Linked DNA regions of Homo sapiens: region 2 is linked to region 1. The links are contacts of gene promoters, found by promoter capture Hi-C in blood cells and fetal thymus (Javierre and others, 2016). All regions are on one chromosome and are shown on one strand. The core of a region is centred on a gene start or on the middle of the fragment in contact, and the rest is flanking DNA. Distances in the headings are between cores, read along the strand shown. Region 1 holds the start of PPP1R2 (protein phosphatase 1 regulatory inhibitor subunit 2). Region 2 holds the start of ATP13A3 (ATPase 13A3).

Region 1 (4,301 bases), core at 1,271-3,770:
CATTTGAAAATCTTATTTGGGCCACACTGAGGAATAAAGTAGTTCAACTATTCTGAAAGATAAGGAAAAGCAGGCCATGTGTGGTGGCTCATGCCTATAATCCCAGCACTTTGGGAGGCTGAGGCGGGCAGATCACCTGAGGTCAGAAGTTTGAGACAAGCCTGGCCAACATGATGAAACCCCATCTCTACTAAAAATACAAAAATTAGCTGGGTGTGGTGGCAGGCACCTGTAGTCCCAGCTACTCGGGAGGCTGAGGCAGGAGAATCACTTGAACCCAGGAGGCAGAGGTTGCAGTGAGTGGAGATTGTGCCATTGCATTCCAGCCTGGGCGACAGAGCAAGACTTTGTCTCAAAAAAAAAAAAAAAAAAAGCAGTACTGGCCCTCACAATTTTACAAACTATTTTTTTTTAAGTGCTACCAAAGTCATCTTCATCTGCATTCATTTGTTGTGGGTTTGGGAGTGGAAGAACCAGTACAGGAGACAAAAGTTTAACTCTTGATGAGGGAAATATGTTTCCAAGGTTCTTCAGAGAACTCTTCATCACCTCCTGTTCCAATGTTTGTTAGTTAATTAACTAATAAAACACTTTATGTCATACGATCGTAGTCCCTTTCATTAGAGGGTCTGAAAGCAAGCTGTTGCTTAATCAAGGGCCCAGTCACAGTTGAGTTCAGGGATGCTGAACTCAGTGATGCTTCCCAGCCCAAGCAGGAACAAAGCAAATCTGCCCAATAATTTGGAACATACAGGGAAGTTTGTGTATTCCCTTGAAAACAGGATTGCCATCACTGACCTAGACTCCTGCTGACAGGGCAGGAGACGCAACACAGGTGTTGAACACTGGGGTGGAAAGAACTCAGGAAGGGAAGGGAGGTGGCCATCCTGCTTCCCCTCGCTGAGAACCCTCTCTCTCTGCTCCATGGGCTGGACAGGGCTGTCAGGGTGTAATGTTAGATCCACTGAGCAGTCCTGGCCTGGGAGGGAGAGACGGCACCAGTGGATATTTGACTGGGAACAAAGGTGGGGACAGTGCCAACAGTGACTGTGCAGGCCCCTGGCTGAGGCAAATCCCTGGGGAACACATTCCACTCTGTGACCAGCAACCCTGTTTCCCTTCTCCCCTTCCAGCTCACTTCCCCTCCATTATCTCCATCCACATCCATTCCCATACTGAGGCCCTGTTCTGTGCCAGGAACTCATCTAGGAGCTAGGGGCTCGGGGCCAGACGATAAAAACAATCGTTTTCAGAACCCTACAGTCATCCCTGAGGGGCAGAGTCCTAAGGACACAGAACAGGGTCATCCTCAAAAGGCACAGAGCCTGTGTTAAAGAAGATGAGACTGTGGTCCAGAGATGAGCCATGGGAGTGAAACTGCTGCTATAGGGGCTAGATAGGGGAAAACGCTTCCTCTCACCCCCCACAGCAGTGGACAGACATTGCTGGGAGCGAGGTGTCAGCTCAATCTAAGAACTCCCAGAGTCAGAGCTGTCCAAAAACAAAATGAGTTACACGGGGGTGTGGCGGGCTTCTAGCCCCTGGGGTTGTTGGAGAAACAGGCTGAATAGCCACCTTATGGGCCTGCTTGACAAGGTCCCTTCCAGGACCAGTGGTCTGTGAATCCGCAGGGGCTGGTCCACCGGAGGGGCCAGTTCTGGGTGGCTCAGTCTGCTGTGCTCTAACCTGTGGTGAGGACGATAAAAAGGCCTGATCAAGAAAGAGTCATGGAAAAGAGCCTGGTGATGAGCGAGCTGCGGACTGGACTTGGGAGAGGGAGGGAAGGGAGTGTACAGGGACCATAACAAATACCACACACGAGGTGGCTTTAAGCAATGGAAATGGGCTCTCCGTTCTGCAGGCTTGAAGTCCACATCAACCTGCGGCAGAGTTGGTTCCCTCTGTGGGGGGAACCTGTCGCGGCCTCTGCGGGCCCAGGAGGTCCTTGGCTGGGAGATGTGTCCCTGCCGCCCTCCCGTCTCCTGCGCTCTCTGCCTAGACGGGTTGTGCGACGGCGGGGGTCGCTGCCCGTCTGTCCGTCGGCTTCTCCAGCGGTAAAAGGAGGTGAGGCGATTCCAATGCAGACATTCTATGATTTCATAATAGGCCTCTAAGGACCACTCCAATGCTGGCAGTCCATGCTTTTATAATAGGCAGTTCGGCTGTTTACACGGGCGAAATGGAAAGAGGAGATACCCGTTTTCTTCAAGTCAGCTAACCTCTCTGCGGAGTGACGTCACCTCGAGTCTCAGTCTGCTGATCTAAAAAATAAAAATAACACTACGGCCTCACAAGGTGGTGGGACGAGGGTGCTCGAGAGACGCGCGGGTCCGGGAAGCAGCAAGCCCGGGCGCTCTCCCGCAGGTTCTCAGAGACAGCTCCCGCCTCCCAGCGCCGCGCGGGGGCGGGGCGAGCAGCCCGGGCGGGACGGAGGGGGCGGGGCGAGGAGGTCGGCTTTGTTCTCGCCCCGCCCTCTCCCCGCCTCCTCCCTAGATATCGCGAGAGGGCGGGTCCGCTTGGCTTCGGCGTCGCGTCGCTCCTGCGCTGGAGCTCTAGGCCGGCGTCTCTCCGCGAGCCGCGGGTCAAGTGCCAGTGGCTAAGGGTGCGCGAGTAGCCGCCACCCGTTCGGCGTTGGCTCTGGCGTCGGGGTCGTTGTGTCGTGACAACCGCTGCGGTAGCCGTTTCCGAGGCAGCAGTTGCGGCCGCTTTAGCCCTGAGCGGGATCTGCGGCTGCCTGCGAGTCTCTGCTGTGCCGACCCTTCTCTTCGCGGACCCCACGCCAAGCAGCGACCCTGAGCCGACAGCCGGAGCGCCCGGCAATGGCGGCCTCGACGGCCTCGCACCGGCCCATCAAGGGGATCTTGAAGAACAAGACCTCTACGACTTCCTCTATGGTGGCGTCGGCCGAACAGCCCCGCGGGAATGTCGACGAGGAGCTGAGGTGAGCGCTGGGAGGGACGGCCTGGGAGCCCCTCCTTCCCGCCGGGCCCGTTACCTACCCAGACCCCAGGGGCGGGCGGGCGGCGTGGATGCGGCTCGGGTGCCGCTCGAGTCTCTTCTCCTGCCCGGCTAGCCGCGGGTGGGAGCGATCTTTAAGAAGGCTGGGCGATGACGTTTATCATGCTTCCTTTTTTTTTTTTAAGCATTTGGGCATATATAATATTTTTAAACATCATCTTTGAACTTTCTGTAATCGGGAACATCAAAGAATGAAATTGAAGCTTCAGATCTTCGACTGTTAAGCTTTTACTATTTCTTAACCTCATCTCTGAGGTATCTAAAATTCTTCGATAATTACAGTGTATTTTCTTGCTTTGGGAACCCTTTAAGATCTAGTCTCAAGCTAATAGGCGATCCGTCAAAGAAGAGACCATTTCCCCCATTAGCATTGTGCCACACTGTATTTCTGCATCTGCAACCAGAGTTTTGGGTGCTTTCTAGTTTTTGTTCCTGTTCAGAGATAGATCTAAGCTCAAAACAGTTCAAAGAGGAGCAACTTGAAATGACCCAGTGGTAATTTAGTTGCTCTTGCATACGCTAAAGATACACATGTAAAAAGTTGTTGACCTGAGCATTGTATGTAATATTTATAATATAATTGGAAACGACCGGAAGTCCATTAGTAAGAGCTGGTGAAATATTAATTACGGTACGTTTGTATAATGGAACAATATACTAGCCTTTAAAAAAAGAAAGGTAGGCGTTTATGCACGGAGAAAATGTTGCAGTACAGTATCTGTAGTGGGTTAGAAGTGCACGGGGGCTTGGGCGTTGCAAGATACTAAAAATAGAAGGACTCTACTTTCTGAAAATAAGGCTTAAGAAAAGTTACCATTGAAATTGGTAGTCAGAAGCTAAAATGAGGATGTTTGTGAAATCTCAGAATATAGGAACCTAGGGCATTCCTGGATAAAGGATCTTATTTAGGACCATAAAAGGAACTACTGCTTGGTGGTGGTAAATTTTAGGGATTTGTGTTACCTTGAAGGAAATATTGAGTAGGTTCATAGGTTAGAATCGTGGCCTTTTGGGGCTGGAAAGGACCTTAGTTTTTGTCTAGCAACTCCCACGCTCATGGATGCTTGAATCTTACATTCTCTCACACACAATTTTCCAACTTCTTTGGGCTAAGCCACGTTAAATGGAGTGCTGGGGGAGTGTGATGTGTAGGTCATGGAATTAAGAAGACAGAATTTCACCAGAACATAACTGAAGCAGGAGAACCAAGTTAGTTAAAAGATAAATAACATCCAGGCGTGGTGGCTCACGCCTGTAATCTCAGCACTTGGAGAGGCCAAGGT
Region 2 (3,965 bases), core at 1,071-3,570, 1.1 Mb after region 1:
TCTAGCTAGAGCTGCCTGGCAGGCAATTGGATATTTGGTTCTAAATTTTGTGGAAGGGGTCTGGGTTGGAAATTGCTAATTTGGGAGCTGCATCCATGAGGATGCAGGCAATCCCAGAAGAATGAGTGAAGTGAGCAAAGTTGTTGGCTTAGAGTGGAATCCTGAATTTAAGGTGCAGATTCACAAGTAGATGTTACCAAGGAGGCAGAGGCTTTACTTACCTTCATGTGATAATCCAGAGGGTTCACTCTTCTGAAACCAAGGTAGTAGAGAGATTCCAGAAGGTGAGAGTCATCCCAAGGTGTCAAATGTAGCAGAAAGAACCAGAGAGATAAGGCCTGAGGAATGCCTGCAAGGTTTGGCAAAATGAAAGTCATGAGTTGCTCTTGCCTGAGCAAGGTGAAGGGTTAGAGTTGGGGAGGAGAAGCCAGAATGCCAAGTGTTGAGAAATGAGGAAGCAGAGGCAGCCAGGGAAGACCATTGTTTGAGGTCCGCATGAAACACTTGGAAGCTAGTTGGAGGGAGCACTTCAGGAGGAGGTTGGCTTGATAATTTTGTTTTTAGGACTTGGAGAGGCCAACCTGTTTAAAGGCTGAGAGGAAGCAGCAAGGCAAGGAAGCCTGGGAGGTGGGGGAGGAAGATTTTAGGGCCAGACCCCACCCAGACCGTTTTCTTGTGGTTTGCCCAACACTACCACACACCCCTTAATCTCATTTAATCATTTCAACACCACGAGGTTTGAAACAAACGGTGAGGTATGAAACAAAACGGTGAGGCCAGGGATTGGGAAGAGAAAGCTGTGGTTCCATCTCGGTCCAGCGTGCTGTCCACGCCAAGAGGCGGGCAGAAATGCTAGCCTCACACAATCTAGGGGACCAGGGGTGGCTGTGGCGCCCTCCTGCCCGCAGGAGGTGTTATCAGTGTCGCGGACTCGGGCGGTGTGCTGCCCCTGGTGAGATGTCATCACGTGCGTGGACCAGGGGTGGCGGCCCTGGTAAGTGTCCAGGGACTAAGGGCTCCCTGCTCTCCAGGTGTGGTGGACGGGGTCCGCATGCATGCCGTCCTCTTCTCTAAGACGCTAAGGCGGCTGAGTTCTGTAAGTAGCGGCAAGAAGAACAGTCACGGAGCGGGCCGGGCACAAAGGGCGCAGGCCAGGTGGCCCCAGGCGGAAAGATGGCCGCAGCCAGAGGCTGCAGGTGGCCGGGCGCGCTCCCTGCGCGCGTCGCGGAGAGGACGCAGCGAAAATCAAACCCGCGATTTGGAAATCCGGCTGCGGCCCTACCCCGAGATAAGTCTTCTGCGGAGGGAAGTATTTAATTTGCATCCAGGACGGTCGGAAGAGGCGCCTTCCCGTCGGAGGCGAGGCGCGGGCGCGTGGGAGCTTTCTCGTGTGCGCTCCTCCCTGTCCTCCGCCTGCGGCCGGGGCGCAGAGTCCGTGGTCATATGAGAATGACAGTTTTTTGTCTGTTTGTTTTGGCGGGGGCGAGGGTGGCTAAAGGAATGAAAGAGCCTTGCATTAGGAGCTGGGCTCTGGTTTCCTCTCCACCATTCTAGCACAAGCTTCCTCCATGACCATGACTCTGGGCAACGTCTGTCTAGTCACTGAGCCTCAGTTTCCCTGTTCATAAAATGGGAGATTGGACTATGATGTTGTCATAGCCCAAAGGGGATGAAGTGGGATTTGCCGTTCCATTTCATCCCACCAGAAAAGCCGCCCTCCATTAGCCACCCCGGGCTGACACCCAGCGTTTTTGGACGGCCTCGCCTCCCCTTACCTGCCTCTTTCTTTCTTTTGCCCGTTCGAGGGTGGCAAAGGCGATGGGTGGGCGGGGCCTATAAATCGCCCCGCCCCTCCCCGCCCCTTCCCCGCCTCCTGACGTCGCCCGCGCCCCTCCGCCCTCCGCGCGGGGATGAAGCCACCACGTGACCTCACATCCGGCGCGGGAGTCCTGAGCCCGCGCGCGCTCCCCCGCCTGCCTGCCGGCTCTCCCCGCAGCGTGATCGGGCGCCGCCGCGGAGGGGAGGGGGGTTCTCTACGTCGCTGGCGGCGGGGGGGCCGTTTCGGAGTGCAGACCGCCCCCCTCCCCTGCCCACCTCCCGCCGCCCTCCCTTGTTCTCGCCCTGCCGGCTGCACGCCGCCGCCGCGGGCGCGGAGGAGGAGGAGAGCGCGGACGTCCCAGGGCCGGCCCGGCCCCGCCGCGGCGCCTCCTTCCCTCACCCTGAGCCGCAGCGCGCGGCGCCGGCCGAGGGCGATGGGGCTGGGCTGAGGCGAGGCGGCGGCGGCGACAGCGGCGGCCGGGTCCCCCGCGGTCCCTGGGGCTGGTCCGGCCGCGAGGGAGGCCGCGGAGGAGGCGGCGCGGCGGCGGCCAGTGAGCGGCCCCGGTGAGCGGGGCGAGGGGCGGGTGGGCAGCGGCGCCGGGGGAGGTCGAGGAGGCGAATGGTGGTGTCGGGGCGGCGGGTACCGGGCGAGGTCGCGGCCAGCCTTCTCGGGCCGGAGTTGGGCATCGCGGGGACGGGGAGTGTCGGGGGCAGGTGAGGCCAGGGCAGGAGCCCACGCGGTGGGTGCGAAGGCCTGGGGGGGACGCGCCGCCTGCCGGGGGCGAGCGTGGGGGCCGGGCGCTTGGTGGTTGGTAGTCAGAGCTTTCGGAAAGTCCTGTGGGAGGTGGAGGTCCTGTGGGCAGAGGCGTAGGGGTGCTGGCAGGGCCCTCGATGAGTCTGTGCGGGACCCTAGCTCGTCCTCAGCCGTGGAGTATGGAGCTGCTTGCCATCTCCGCATTTCACAGATAAAAGGAGTGAGTCCCGTGGAGGAAAAGTGACTTCTGACTTGCCTGAGGCCTCCCACTCGGACTCTGTGGCAGTGAGGACTAGAAAAACCCAGGGCCCTTTGCCCTAGCAGTGCTCTCGTGGCCACTCTCGCTATGGCCTTTCTGTCTCTCCATTCCCTTCACAGAGTCAGGTTCTGGTGGAAGTATGACCTCTGGCTTTTTTGGGGAGGTGAGGGGTAGGGATGAAGGGGGAGGGAATCGGGTTGGGATTGGCAGGAACTCAGCTGGGGGCTTCCCGGTGTGGAAGAAGCTTTGTGACAGGTGTTTATTGTTTCCTCTTCCCATAGATCTGACAGACATCCCTGAATCTTGGTGTTTGGACATAGGAGGTATGAATCACTCACATAATTAGCCGCTTTTAATCATCAGTGTCTTAGAGCTATATTTAGTGGTTATATTAGTGCAAAATGAATGGGTGTGGAGTCGTACACCTAGAAACAGACTTGTGTTCCTCTATACGATTCTAACTAAATGAGTAGAACATACCTGGGTATGTCATGGCTACTTTAGATCTATGAGGCAGGAAGTTAGAATTTAAGGAATCTAAGAAATGCAGGGACTTGAAAGATTATTGCAAAATAAAGCCTTTAAAAAGTATCGTTGTTAAAATGAAAGTGTTTCGATTTGATTCCTTTGAAGGGTGAGTACGTAATGAACAGTGCTCTATCTTTGGTTAGAGCTCAGCCTCTTTACCAAGGTACATGTATTAATTTTGTTTCACTGGAATATATGTGACATTATTTTCTCTAGAGGTTTGTTGCTTTGCTTAATAGACTACAGTTGCCAAAAATCAATGTGTGTGGGCATCTCATCCTGGTTTGCAACCCCTTTAAGGCAAATCAGTGCTTGGAAGTTGTTCGAAGTAGTAAACCTATTATTAATGATTGTTGTAGAACATAACTTTTGCTGGTATCTTTGATTTGCATTATCCTACCATTAGATCAGGCAGAGAGTGAAATAATTGAGATTTTGAGCCTTGTTAGAACAACAATGCCTGGCTTTGGTCAGGGGATTGGGTAGGAAAAGTGACACTATTTGGTTGCTTTAAATTTTTTTTTTTTTTTTTGAGATGGCATCTTGCTCTGTTGCCCAGGCTGGAGTGCAGTGGTGTGAACTCGGCTCACTGTAACTTCTGCCTCC

Evidence for each region. The method cuts DNA at HindIII sites, captures the fragments that hold promoters and counts their contacts. A CHiCAGO score of 5 or more calls a contact.
Region 2: a fragment that was not itself captured here is called in contact with the fragment with the promoter of PPP1R2 in region 1 in 2 of 17 cell types (fetal thymus and naive B cells); the score reaches 7.1 in fetal thymus.

The regions. Positions count from the first base shown.
Region 1 is chr3:195,541,544-195,545,844 of GRCh38, reverse strand. It overlaps PPP1R2 (protein phosphatase 1 regulatory inhibitor subunit 2), which reads left to right and starts at 2,520. Exons shown (of 6, transcript NM_006241.8): 1 at 2,520-2,941. The coding sequence starts at 2,820. RefSeq lists a silencer at 2,309-2,548. The HindIII fragment of the contact is 8,075 bases long and covers 1-3,223 here.
Region 2 is chr3:194,484,983-194,488,947 of GRCh38, reverse strand. It overlaps ATP13A3 (ATPase 13A3), which reads left to right and starts at 1,946. Exons shown (of 34, transcript NM_001367549.1): 1 at 1,946-2,382; 2 at 3,113-3,154. ATP13A3-DT (ATP13A3 divergent transcript) reads right to left here and starts at 1,808. Exons shown (of 2, transcript NR_033929.1): 1 at 1,776-1,808; 2 at 403-1,492. RefSeq lists an enhancer at 927-1,146 and silencers at 1,817-2,476, 2,507-2,556, 2,647-2,706. The HindIII fragment of the contact is 1,515 bases long and covers 1,563-3,077 here.